Linked DNA regions of Homo sapiens: region 2 is linked to region 1. Evidence: promoter capture Hi-C in 16 types of primary human blood cells and fetal thymus (Javierre and others, 2016). All regions are on one chromosome and are shown on one strand. The core of a region is centred on a gene start or on the middle of the fragment in contact, and the rest is flanking DNA. Distances in the headings are between cores, read along the strand shown.

Region 1 (6,811 bases), core at 2,760-5,259:
ACATTTTATGCAGTCACCCTCAGAATCTGTGCTTAACAACTGGTCTAAAATATACAGCTCCTTACAAATCTAATCAGCCACCCATTAGCATCTGTTTGAGTTTACCCTTACGTTGTAAGAAGCTCAAAGCCATAATCTTTCTCTTCTTAGGATCTGTTTCGTTTTAACCTTAGTCCCTCCACTGGGCAATCGTGAGAGTCAACTATGTAAGCCCCAAACCACTGTTGTATGTATGATATTTTAAAATCAGTGGCAAAACATTTTTTTAATTCATGTTTTTTCTATGTCCTCACCTCACGAGTTAACTGCATGTAGCCTCCCGTTTGCAATCTCTGTCAAGAAAAATGCCATTTACAGCTTTCTTCTTCCTTTAGAGATTATTGTACGTTTTAACGTATACATTAAGTTCGACATGGATTCTGTTTGGGTGCTAAGAACAGACATGTGTATCTAAAGATTTACCCTTAAATGTCCTTGATGTTTTTCAAACCATGCCTTTGATGGGCATCGCCTTGCCCTGCGGCCAATGTCTAGACGAAAGAAAGAGCCACAGCCCTTGTACTGAGTTGCACTTTCCCATCCACGCCAAAGCAAGAAAAAAGCCCAGCCCATGACCGTGAAACTCGGGGTTACGAAGAGGCTTTTCCCAAAGGGGTCTCAAGTCCAATTAATAGCTGTCATTTGATTACGTGACCTGGAACGTCTCCAACCCGCACCCTAAACAGGGCAAGGGCGTCACGTTTTTAAATTCACGCTCAGATGTTTGTCCTTATGCCTTCCAACCTTGCCCCTAGCTCTCCTAAATGAGTTCTTTTGAAAAGCAACTTAAAAATAGACACCTAAAGGAGAACGTGGGACTGACTGTCATTATTCCAGGAACTCTTTTTTCAAAAGCTCTATGAAGTGGCTGAACAAAGGTAGTCATTTTTCTTGTGCCTGGGTGAGTACGATGAGGGAGAAAGAATGCACCTTGTAAACTGAGGCTGTGATGGTTAAGATTTCTGATCCAGCTGATAGACTTAAGCCTGCATTCTGATCCCTGCTACATTCTCTTCCAATTCATCTCATAGATTGCTCCAGGCACATCTGACATATTTTAATACCAAAATGTAAATCAGACACCCCCACAAACCACCTCCTCTCTCTCACATTACCCTAAATTTGGACTTTACTTTCCTCGCTGTACTTTACTTTCCTGAGCTGTTCTTTTCTATCACATGTCATTTCCCCTAAAAAGTGTTGTTACAGGAAATAAAGAAGACGTCTTGTTGTAAAGCTGCCCAGTTTAAAGCCAGTTCGAGGCTCCCTTTGCCACTCCACCTTTCCCTTAAAGGCGGGGAGGCCTGGAAGTGCAGAGCAGGCCCCGGGGAGTATATGACACTTTGGGGTCCTCTCCAGCCAGCAGGCTTGCCCACTGGCCTGGGTAAGCAGCTAATGAGCTCCGGAGCCTCTGCAGCAGGCACTCAGCCCTGGCACTGCAGCAGGCACTATTGGCCCACCAGACCCCAATCAATCCTAAGGTCAAGGAAAGTCTGGCAAAATCCATTGCTCTGGCTTTCTTTGGTAATTAGTCACACATGCAAGTAAATGATGATCTGAAAGCCATTTCTGCCTGAGAGTTATTAAAACTAGGAGCCACATTTAATTCATCCAACCAAAGAAACCCCTTGAGGGGTGCCATGAAGGGGGAATCGAGTTCTCTACCCAGAAAGGAGCTTCTGTTGCACTTTACTAAAGATTTTAAGCAGATTTGAGGTTTAGTCAAAGGACAAATTCCTGCTCTCCAAGGAGCACATGCCCAGGAACTTGGAGATCAGCCAGGAGCGGTGGCCATGCTGATGGTCAGAGGGAGGAGGCCTCATGTGATGTGAGGGGGAGAAGAGGGCAGGAGGGAGGATGAGGAGCAGAGAGCTGGGAGGGGTTTTGTGAGCAGCAAGGGGAGGCAGAAAAGTGGGATGTGCCCCTTGTGTGCTTTTATCCACATTAAAGGAACTAAGGCAAGAGCTCCTGCAAGAACCTGCAAATGTGTCTGATAAGCGCCATGGCGGGGCGGTGACTACAGAGCTGCCCTGATTACCCGTTCAGCAGGAACCAGGCTGTGACCCTAATCACAGGTGAGCTCTGGAACACGCGCTTTCTCCCTGGAGACCCGCACAGTTGAGTGAGCCCAGCAGAGCTGAGCATCCTGGAGAGCTCATGAGCACCTTGCTGGCCAGAAGCCTCAGCAAGTGACGGCATGACTGAGCCAGAATCCCAGGGTAGCTGACTTGACCCGAGAGGCCACCCCTCAGTGCTGTGCTGCTTTCTAAGTCCTTCTTCTATAGGAAACTCTTATTGGATAAGTTGTATATAAAGAAAAACCACTCCACGCAGCCATCCCTTCTTGTTGCAAGCAAGGTGAGCTGATGTGGACACAGAAGCTTCTGAAATATCTGTAGAGTCCAGCAGAAAGCCCCTCCTCCTAGCATGTGGGAAATGGAGGTCTCATCCTCATCATTCCATCTCTATTTCAGAGCCCCAGCTCCTTTCTTTCTTTCTCTTCACCTCCCCTCTCCTCCTCCAACCTCTGCCATCCCCTCTGTTCAGCAAATTCCATACACATTTAGACATCAAGATTCACCCGGCAGTCAACCACCCAGCATTGCAGCCCAAGTCTTGGCTCTACTGTTCTTTAGCTGGTGACCTCAAACCACTTAGTTCCCATCTCTGTGCCTCAGTGTCCTCATCTGTCAATTGGGAATAATAATGGTGCCCACTGCACGGAGTTGTTGAGAGGTTCAAAGAAGGTGACAGATGCAGAGACAGCCTGACACTGTCGGCACACAGACCATTAGGCAAGTGTTAGCTGCTGTTACAGGTACCATTGATTGTGGTGGTGGGAGAATTCCCATCTTCCACCCCACAGTTGGTCTCTCCCTGCCTCAAACCCCTGGCTTTGTCCTAAACCCCATTTCTAAGTTTTATAGTGCTTTGCTCTTCTTCTTGTCATGTTTACATCAAAAATCACCCATCAGAGAGATAAAAGCAGGGAGGAGGCATTTTATTTCTGAAGTTGTTAATTTTATCCTAGACTTCCAAGAAAAGAATCATCCATCTGTCAAAAAGAGACAGAGAAGATAAAAGATCTTTAAAAGTAATTATTTAAGTGCCAACCAAGAGGAAATGAAGATGCATTTGGCTCGGTTATTGAGTTGAATTAGAGAATGGTGTTGTACCACCGCTAATCTGCTTCATAGATGAGAAAAAAGGAGAAGATGATTTTAGAAAAACAAACGTGCTGTCAGTTGGCCCCAGTAAAACACATTCTGTATAAACAAGTTTAGAGAAGTGACTTTGGATTTGCAAAATTGTAGCTCTTCTTCTGCCGGGGCCGCCTCCGGTCTTAGAGCCACAGATCTATACACACGGATGTTTCCCAGTTCCTACTACTTTTTGCATTTCTTTCCCTGGTGCTCTGATTAACTGCAGAGGTAGTTTGTACAACTGAGCCATGAAATGCCACCCAACGGCCAGCCCTTTCCCCACCTTGTCCCCTTCCCTTCCATGGCTTGCATTCACCAGATGACCACCTGCCCACTCACATTCTGAAAGGTATCACCGCGGGAATCATGCAAAGACACGCATCTTCGTAAGAGAATAAAACATTTGGCTTTCTCTTCTGAGCTCTAAAACCCAAAGCACTTTTCAAAGTCACCATTCAATCAGAAAGCAAACCTTTCTCCTCCTCAGGCTAATTGTAGAAGTTGCAAACTTAACCAATTTCTGCACTTACCATTCAAACCAAGAGATTAATCCTGTCAGTTCTCCAAGCAAATAATTACAGGATTAATTTGTTCCTCAGCACTGCTAAGTCCCTCACATTTCCTGAGACTAATCCTTCAGCCGAGGTCCCTTCTCACTCCTAAGTTTCCCTCTCCAGGTCGAAGCATCACTCACCTCACTCATGTTGGCTCTAACTCAACAGCTCAGTCCCGCCGCTCAGCACAGAGAACACTGCTCAGGGGTCGCTGCTCCACCGGTTCTGGCTTTTCTCTTAAAAAGAGCTGCCCGGTGGCATCATGCCTCCCTGGAGCCAATGAGATGCATTCACCTGTCTGCAAGCCTGGCCGACATCTGAGAGCACCAGGGGCCACCTAGTGGTGCAAAAGAGAACGGCACGTTAGGTCGCTGCTCCAAATTCCGCCAGGATGGAAGGAAATGCTCGATTTCTTTAAAAAGTAATACACTCCAGCCTGGGCAGCAGAACGAGACCCTGTCTCTTTTAAAAAAAAAAAAAAAGTAAAAAGTAAAAGCTAAAGTTTCAAAGATCATCACAGGGATGCCATTGTGCGTTTTTCAATGAGTGCAAGATTTACATGCATGTAAAATACCTTTCAAATGTCAATGGGAAGGATTGTTTTTCTAAGGGAAGAGGAGCTCTGAAAATACCTGCGTGCCCGCTCACGCACTTTCAGGTTTTCCCAGGAGCTGTGTTTCCCTTGCCCTTTATAACACAAAACTCAGCCCAAGGACTTTAATATCTCTGCTGTCTCTCCCCTATCCCATATCTGTCGCCCTGCTTGTACCCTGAGCTGGAAGGATAAGAGTAGATGGACTGGGACATGGGAATGGGTCCCCACGACCTCAACAAAGGAGGCGAGCGGCTCCAGCAGCCTTGCTGATGTGCCCTCCTCACAACCACAGTGGGGCCAGGAAGGAGCCTGGGCATTGGCCCTGGCCTGGTTGAAGGTCTCCTTGCCTTAGTCCTGTTCAGCTTTTCCGGGAAGAGGTTCCATCCTTTGTTCAGTCCCAACATCGTGAGGCTCTGAAGAGTCTTCAAGGCATCAGAGTGGGCCCTCAACTGTCCCAAAAAAGCGTTGTGCAGACTGAAGGCACATTCACATCTGTTACTCTGCCAGTCCCGGTACAGGACTGAGAGGGTCTGGCGAGAAGATTGAAGCGTCTTGCCACCCGTCCCCAGCACCCCTCATCTCCCTGTGCAGAGCAGGCCACCAGACTCCAGCCCATCAACCCTCTCTCCTCAGCTCAGCAGCCCCACGCCCTCTGACCTGGACTGCCCTCCTTACATGCCCAGGTCACCGATGCGACCACATCCTCAGGTCCACCTTGGACAGCAAGCAGAAGGCCATGCGCCCCCAAATGGGCACCGGCGAGCACAGGCTGCCCTCAGAGGCCTTGGCCAGGAGCACCAGCTGGTCAGCACCCTCGCCCACAGCGTGGGAACACCAGCCAGCAAGACAGAGTCTCATACATGAGTTATTATAAAATAACCTATATTTCACAGAGCGACAGAAATGAACATTATATATATTATATAAAATATGTGTGTTATATTCGTTTCTTTTATATGTATATAAATTATTTATTTACATATCCTGACCACACAAATCATTTGCAAACTAATGAAGACAGCATCCTCCTTCTCTCACTCCCCTCCTCCTCCTTGCCCCCAATGCCACGCTTGGGAAGGCCCACGTGGGATGCCTTTAGGGTTGCCCAGGTGGTTAGTAGTGGGAGAGAAGGAGGAGGAGGGCAGGGTGAGGAACTGGAGCCATAGTGTCATCTGCGATGTAGGACAGATTGACAGATTGGAAGAAGGGTGCTTGCTTATCTATACTAGGAGACACCTGTGATTTCTCAGGGGCAAAAACCACACCCTCCCCAGGGGCCTCCTGCCCTGTTGGGGGCTGGACCCCCACAGCCTGGAGGTGTAGAAGGGGTCTCCCAGTGTGAGCCTCCATGGGGTCCCTGCTGTGGTCCTCCAGGCTGTGCAGAGGGCATGTGGAGAATCAGCCTGTGCTCTGCTGGCTGGCTCTGGAGCAGACCTGCATTTTCTAACAACACAAAGACACATCAAGGGCTGCAGCAGCCTGAGGTTGGCAGCACAGCAATTAGTGCTGAGGCTCCAAGTAGAGGGGCAGGATTGGAGGTGCAGGGCTGGGCTGAGGCTTTGCTGGGTAGACTCAGCAATTCTTTGGGACCAACCAAGGGACTATGAAGACTATTGGGGAGAATGGGTTATGGTCTGAGCTGATTGCCTTCCTCCAGAATTCATACATTCAAGTCCTAACCCTCAATATCTCAAAATGTGACCTTATTTGGAGAAAAGGTCTTTAAAGAGGTGATTAAGTTAAAACAAGGTCACTAGGGTGGGCCCGAATCCAATAGACTGGTGTCCTTATAAGAAGAATAGATTAGGGCACAGGCACTCGCAGAGGGACAACGCTGTGAGGATACAGGGAGAAGATGGCATCTACAAGCAAAGGAGAGAGGTCTCAGAGGAACCAACCGTGCTGCCCCTTGACCTCACACTTTCAGCCTCCAGAACTGCCAGGGGATACATTTTGGTTGCTTAAGCCACGCAGTCTTGGTACTTGATTCTGGTAGCCACAGGAAACGAACACAGATGCCATCACAAGCACACAGAGAAATTTCAGGGAAAGGATAGAATTACCTTAAGGGGGATTTTTCTCAAGGCCTTGTGGTATGCAATTTCATCCTACTTATTTCCCCAGGATATCTTTAGCAAAATAACTATCTCCTGTTAATGAGTCGTGGAGTTGTCCTGTTATAGAGAACACAAAATGAACGTTCAGTATTGCTACAAAGGGAGGGTCAAGCTGCCCTGGGAAATCGGTGCTCGCCAGTGACACAAGACAGGTCTGAGTGTGCAACCCACCAGGTCTCAAATGCAAGCATGCTAGCTGTCAAGAGGCACCCCAGCCTGAACACACATTGCATCCTCTCCCACAGATGGGCCCTGGGACGACATCTCCTCCCATTCATCCTCGTGGGACAGTACTACCCCAAT
Region 2 (6,811 bases), core at 1,391-3,890, 1.2 Mb before region 1:
GATGGGTATGGCTGGGAACGCGAAATGTTTCTCCAAAGCCCCTGCAGTCACTCATGGCATTACTTAGAGAAGACATAGAAATCAGGACCTCCAGTCTTCACGTGTCTGAAGAGGACCTAGCTATGAATAGCAGAACACTCCACTGGCAGGGGGCTGGCTAGGCGGCAGCCATGCCCATTGTCTACAGGCAGCTGGGATATTTTTAGCAAACAACCAAGAGTAAAAGGAAGAATTCTTTAGGAAATGAAACTCTGGCAATTATAGCCACAGAGAGTCAGATAAAAACACACAGATATTGTCAACAAAAAACGTAAAAAACAACTCTATTATTTTTAAACCTGATAACCTAGAATTAGTTAAAAAGAAAACTCCACTCAAAAACAAAAATGACAAAAAAACAAAATTCAAACCAAAAAAACCCCATGATCTTTAAGAAATCTTTACTAGAAAACAACTCATTATCTAACAGATTTTTAAAAAGCATTTTCTCTTCTCAATGATGAAAAAGTACTTTCCCTCCTTGACCATTCACTACTCCTTGTCTATGAACAATTTCAGGAATTAAAAACAAAAACCAAAAATCAAACACCAAAAACCTCTTCTAACTTGCTTTTCGTCACTTTTTTTTTGTACTGCACTTTATTTTCCAGGTCATCTTGCTTTCGTATTAGCAAAAATACACTGAACTTTGGAGTCTCTTTCTTTCCTATCTCTAGCTGAAAAATAAAGTTCTCTTATGCAAATGAATGCCTTATGTCTGACTTTCTTGGGTCTATGTAATGGGGTTGCTGGCATTTCTTTGACCTCCTAGTAGAATAATTAGGTGCTCTAGTTACCAAGCAACAGAATGTCGGGTGACATAGGAGCAGAGATTTCTGGGCAGACACGGGAAAGATGGAGCCTGCCTCCTGGAGAGCCCAAACCGGGACTGCATCTCTGTGGGGACACTGAGCCTCCTGCCATCAAGGTTGATGCTTTCAGGTAGCCAACTTGGCTCCACTGCCCCCAGACTGGGCACAGATGGGATGCCTGCCCATCCTGCATCCCTGTGGACCTGATTGTATGCAGTGCCCATTTGAAGAATTCAGTCACCTCTTCACCATCAAGATCACTCAGTCCTTGGTCCTGGGGAGGAGGTATCGCCTGTCCATGTCTCTGGTATTAAAGTCTCGACGTGGCTGAGAGGGACTGACCCCATGCACTTAGGGTTCTGAATGGTGACTTTTGTGTGTCAGACTATAAAACCCCTAAAGAGGAAAAATACATATGGTAGCATGGGAAGATTTTCTCTGTCTTTAAAATTTTGTCTTGTAAAACCGAGTAAATTCTTGAAGTGGCACATCAACAAAAGAAGGATATTATACAAAGATGTATGGATAGGGCTATTGTCCCAAAATATCCATGTGTTTAGGGGAAAACTCCCAGAATGTCGACTGCGAATTTTCCTGATGTTGAGATTATGCGATTATGAGTAGCTTCTAATTATTGTCATACATTTCAATATTTTTCAAATTTTCTACAGTTGATGTTGCCTTTACATTAGAAAATATAAACATGTAAAACGTACCTCTGTATACATGTGTATGTGTGTGTTGTGTGTGTTGTATGTGTGTATGTATGTGTGTGTGGGTGTATTGTGTGTTGTTTATGTGTATGTATGTGTGTGTGTTATATGTATTTGTGTGTGTTGTGTGTGTTGTATGTGTGTATGTATGTGTGTGTGTTGTGTGTGTATGTGTGTGTTGTGTGTGTATGTATGTGTGTGTGTTGTGTGTGTGTGTTGTATGTGTATATGAATGTGTGTGCATATTTGCACAATGTCCCGGGGTTTGCTTTCCAAAATGTGATTGTCTTTGTATATCACCTAAAATCTGCTTATTCCTCCAGGGGGAAAAGGAAAAAACTCACTTCTGAGCAGGGCCCTGAGTTGCTTTGTGAACTGCTAGCACTTCCCCACGGCCCTGAGATTTGGCAGGTAGGAATCTTCTTCTTAGCCCCGTGATCCTCCTGCTGTGTTTTTGGCCCCGTCCCCGGAACTTAGATTCCTCAGCTGCAGTTCATAGTGATAAGAGGTAACATTGGTTGGGCACTTATTTCTTCACTGGATGCATATTTTCTCTCATTAGTCCTTGCACTGAGCCTGAGAGGGAGGCTCTGCCATCATCTCCACTTTTCCAATGACAAGACAAAGACACAGGTGTGGCCAAGACCCCTGCATCACCCACCAGCCACCCTGTTCCTTCTAAATGGGGTGGCGGGGCACCCCCAGGGCGTGTGAGGCTTACAAAATCAATTTCACCAAAGAGGTTCTTGGGAATTCAATAACATATTGAGATTAGTTGTTTAAAATACATTGAACATTTCAGTGTATCAAGTAGAGTCCACACACTTGGTCCAATCTAGGTCTGGGTGAGAAGGCTGCCTTCTTATGGGATCTGGTTGGATGCACAGGGGATAACAGGTCCCGCTGAGACACGGTGACCATGTGGTCCAGGCCTCTGTCGATGGGTTGCCTCCTGCTGTCTGGGCAAAGACCTGACCTCTGTGGATGTGAGAGACCGAGGTTTACGCACAGGCTCATGGCGGAGAGACTAAAGCAAGCACGGCCCAGACAAAGTCCGAGGTGATGCTGGGAGGAACTCCAAGACCGTCTGTCTGCTCTGTGGCTTTCCTGGTGCAAAACCCCTGCTGTGTTAGGGCTAAGGTCTACCTCATATGTCCCTGGAATAGGGAATGTATTCATTTACATTCTTACTCAAGAACATGGTTGATGTAACATGTTTCCCTGGCAGTCTATCTTGAGAAGTTTCATGGCAATCATTTTAACTAGCAACCACTCTAGAACAGTAATAGGCAAGTCAAGTTAGTGTCAGTCTATCCTAGACACATGCAGAACCACGAGTCTTTCTGAGGGATGATGACTGCATAGACTTCAGACACATGGCATGTTGAAATGGAGCAATTGTGAATGAAGCCCTAAGCAGCGTGGTGGACAGAAGTGTTGAAAAAACATCTGGAATGCTGAATTCTTATCGCTGCCAGTCACTGCATGACTCTGCAAGATTACAACTCTAAAATGCTCCTTATCTCAGGATTCTAACTAATTGTAACAACTCTGGTTTTTTTGATTGTCATACATTTAGGAGCAAGACAACTTTGCAGCTGTCTTTCCCTTAACAGATCACACAGTCTTCGTTTTTTTTTTTTTTTTTTTGAGACGGTCTCACTCTGTCACCCAGGCTGGAGTGCAGTGGTGCAATCTTAGCTCACAGCAACTTCTGCCTCCCAGGCTCAAGCAATCCTCCTGGCTCAGCCTCCCGAGTAGCTGGGACTACACACACCACCATGCCCAGCTTATTTTTGTACTTTTAGTAGAGACAGGGTTTCACCATGTTGACCAGGTTGGTCTTGAACTCCTGACCTCAAGTGATCTGCCCACCTCAGCAGACGATCTTGGAGTTCCTCCCAGCATCACCGCTGACTTTGTCTGGGCTGTGCTTGTTTTAGTCTCTCCACCATGAGCCTGTGCATAAACCTCGGTCTCTCACGTCCACACAGGTCAGGTCTTTGCCCAGACAGCAGGAGGCCACCCATTGACAGAGGCCTGGACTAGATGGCCACTGTGTCTCAGTGGGACCTGTTATCCCCTGTGCGTCCAACCTCCCAAAGTGCTACGATTACAGGCGTGAGCCACCAGGCCGAGTTGAGATCATGCAGTCTTTTGGCTCCAGGTTGTGACATTCTGTGGTGACTTCTAGTAGATCTCTGCTCAGACCCAGGCACTCATTTATTCAGTCAACAAATGTTTATGGAGCTAGGAAAATGAAGTGGGAGACAGTTCTCTGCCTTTAATGATTGCACCTCTTAGCAGAGATGCCCACAGCCCTCTAGACACAACGACACTTTGTGTTTGTGTGTAACAGACAGCGAGGACTCAGGTCAGGGTTTAACAGAAGTATGTTTGCACTAAACACATCTCTGTGGGTTTGGAGTTGGCCTGGCTGCGTCAGAGTGGAACGCAAATGAGGTTTAAGTTATGTGCAATTAGAAATTTCTCTTTTCCCCTTCGTCTGGTTTTGCTCATCGCTAATCTCATTTCTTGCTCTCATACCCATCATCTGTCCTGGCATCAACTTAGCAGAACAATGTCTATGAAATTAAATTCACAACAGCCTTGGCAGCTGATTCGGAATCTAGTCCTGATGTCATCTGGATCCTGGGCTGCGGCCAGTGTGGAGGCCCTGCAAGGAGCAGAGCAGCAGCGGCAAGGCCGTTTGTAGACAGGCCTGTTGAGCCCCGTCTCGCCTTGGGGAGGGCAGCAGGAGGCTGAGCTCTGTGCCGAGAAACTCCAGGGACCATTAGAAACCCTGGAATTGCTTCTTCCGGAACCTTAATCCCCATGACTTAAGGACACCAGGAGACAGACTTCCACCTTTTGGATAAAATCACTCCTAACAGTTAGCTAGTCACCTCCAAACAACACCGCATGCTAAGAGCCCAGGATTCCTACAGCCTATTTCCCAGACCTTTGCGTTCTACCAAGTTTCTTGGGGGATGACAATCTCCCTCATCCGTGTATTTTATCTCCCTCCCCTTTTACTTTGCCAGCTGAATAATTTGGCTTGTGTAAAACAGAATGACAAAAGGTGATTGTTTTGAGCCTTTTGGGCAGGGACTGCGTAACAGGCCTTTTAATTCCCAAGAAAATTGCTTTTTCTATACAAAATATACTGTACCATTCACTTCTCAGCAGAGCCATTTCTATTCGAACATAGCTTCCTTTCAGATTCGACATACAGTATGTAAATGTGAGCTAGCAACCAAAAGCTCCTTTCTAAAATCGAGACTGTTAATATTTCCCTTTTAGGACTGTCACCTCCCTCAGACGGCAAATTACTGTCAACTTTCCTGCTGCCTGGCAGTGGGTAACTGAGCTTTTTCTCCCATTTGTTGAAAGGAAATATTGTGCTAGGGACCATTTCTAGAAAGACATCTGTATTTAAAAGTCATTATCTCCAGAAGCGGGCATCAAAAGTCACTGGCCGTGCTCTGTTCACATCAAGTAGTCGGCGAACAGGTTAAACATCTTTCCATTGTGTGTGAACTTGGTAACTCTTGGTCTATTTTAGAAGGCTTCAGTTCGGTGTAATTACTACGGTTTCTAAAGGAGTTTCTGTGTAATTACCATGTAGTTTATTTTATGGTAACTATGCAATTAACTTGTCTCACTTCTTTAAGTGGAAAATACTATAATTCTAATACAAATGGTTTGGATGCTAGTTTCCCCAACCATACTTTCAAATATCTATATTTTAAGTGATTTCTTCATTTTTTCCCTTCCCTTTCTTCAAATAACAAATCTGGTTTAGTTATTTTATTTTATTTTTTTTGCTGTTTTTTTTTAGAGCAAAAAAAGGTAAGATTGTTAAAATTTTATTGGGCAGCCCCAAATTATCAAGTTATGTTTTGGGACAATGATAGTTAAACACAACGGTAGTTAAATGATCCACACCAGTGAATGCTGGCCAGGGTCTTTACAGAATCTCTCGAGGTCTGATAGAAATCAAGAAGAGAAGCCAGAGGAAAATGGATACATTTGTATTTACTTTTCATTATGTCAGAATTAGCTTTAGGAGGCAATTTTCTAGACTTGCCATTTCTGCTGGGAAGGTGAGGGTGGCATTTGGAGAGTATCCAGGGGACATCCCCTCCAATTGTTTAAGGCACAGGTAGGGCAGATGGGGCTAGATTGCCATGAAAGGCTTTGAAAAGTGGAAGCTACCCCATCGCTAATTATACCCTAGGGGAAAGTGGAAAGTGTCAGCCCATAGATTTTTTTTTTTTTTTTTTTGATCTGGAGTCACGCCCTGTCACCAGGCTGGAGTGCAGTGGCGCGATCTCGGCTCACTGCAACCCTTGCCTCCTGGGTTCAAGCGATTCTCCTGCGTCAGCCTCCTGAATAGCTGGGATTAAGGCATGCACCACCACGCCCAGCTAATTTTTGTATTTTTAGTAGAGACGGGGTTTCACCATGTTGGCCAGGATGGTCTCGATCTCTTGACCTTGTGATCCACCCACCTCAGCCTCCCAAAGTGCTGGGATTGCAGGTGTGAGTCATCGCACCTGGCCAGATTTTTTTTTTTTTAATATCATTTCAATTGTTCCTGCCTGTGTAACCAGCTGGGATGGCATTTATACAGCCCACTGAAATGTCTGATGAATTAAAAGCAAACCAATTTACCTGTCGAACAGTGGGCCCAAGGCCAACCTTAGGCATAATTCTGACTCATCTAATCTCATCAATTCATTTCTCCATTCATCTTTCCAAGCATCCAAGACATACAAATACCTAGGCATTGGGGCAAAGGAGATAACACCCCCACCCCTGAAGATCTTATAGCCCTGTGTGGGAGGCGATTGGAGTGACAGACAATTAGAATAGAGCAAGAGAGCACCGTGATGGCGTGAACAGTCGTGCTGTGAGAGCACACTTGCATTCTACAAACACTCTACATTCTACAAATAGAGCACCTCCTATGCACTGGGTGTTATTCTAGGTCCTGGAAATGCAACAGAGAGAGACCCATGAAATATCAGTCCTTACGGTGCTCACATTCCAGTAGGAACATGGGAAATCCACAGGTAAACATGCACACTGATTGCATGCGATGGTGTGTTTCACATTCTGCAAAAGGACAGGGAAAAGGGCTGGGGAAACAAGGAGCCATGTTGGATGTGGTGGCCAGGGAAGGCCTCTCAAGAAAGAGGCATTTGAGCAGAGACACCATAAAGTCAGGGCGTGAACCTTGGG

Evidence for each region. Contacts are between HindIII fragments. The CHiCAGO score rates a contact against its expected background, and 5 or more counts as called.
Region 2: a fragment that was not itself captured here is called in contact with the fragment with the promoter of PCP4 in region 1 in 1 of 17 cell types (M2 macrophages); the score reaches 7.1 in M2 macrophages.

What each region holds. Positions count from the first base shown.
Region 1 is chr21:39,864,636-39,871,446 of GRCh38, reverse strand. It overlaps PCP4 (Purkinje cell protein 4), which reads right to left and starts at 4,009. Exons shown (of 3, transcript NM_006198.3): 1 at 3,937-4,009. The coding sequence starts at 3,945. RefSeq lists a silencer at 1,958-2,111. The HindIII fragment of the contact is 4,692 bases long and covers 2,423-6,811 here.
Region 2 is chr21:41,061,945-41,068,755 of GRCh38, reverse strand. No RefSeq gene overlaps it. Among named protein-coding and RNA genes, the nearest start is that of LINC00323, 83 kb to the left of the region's middle. The HindIII fragment of the contact is 9,228 bases long and covers 1-6,811 here.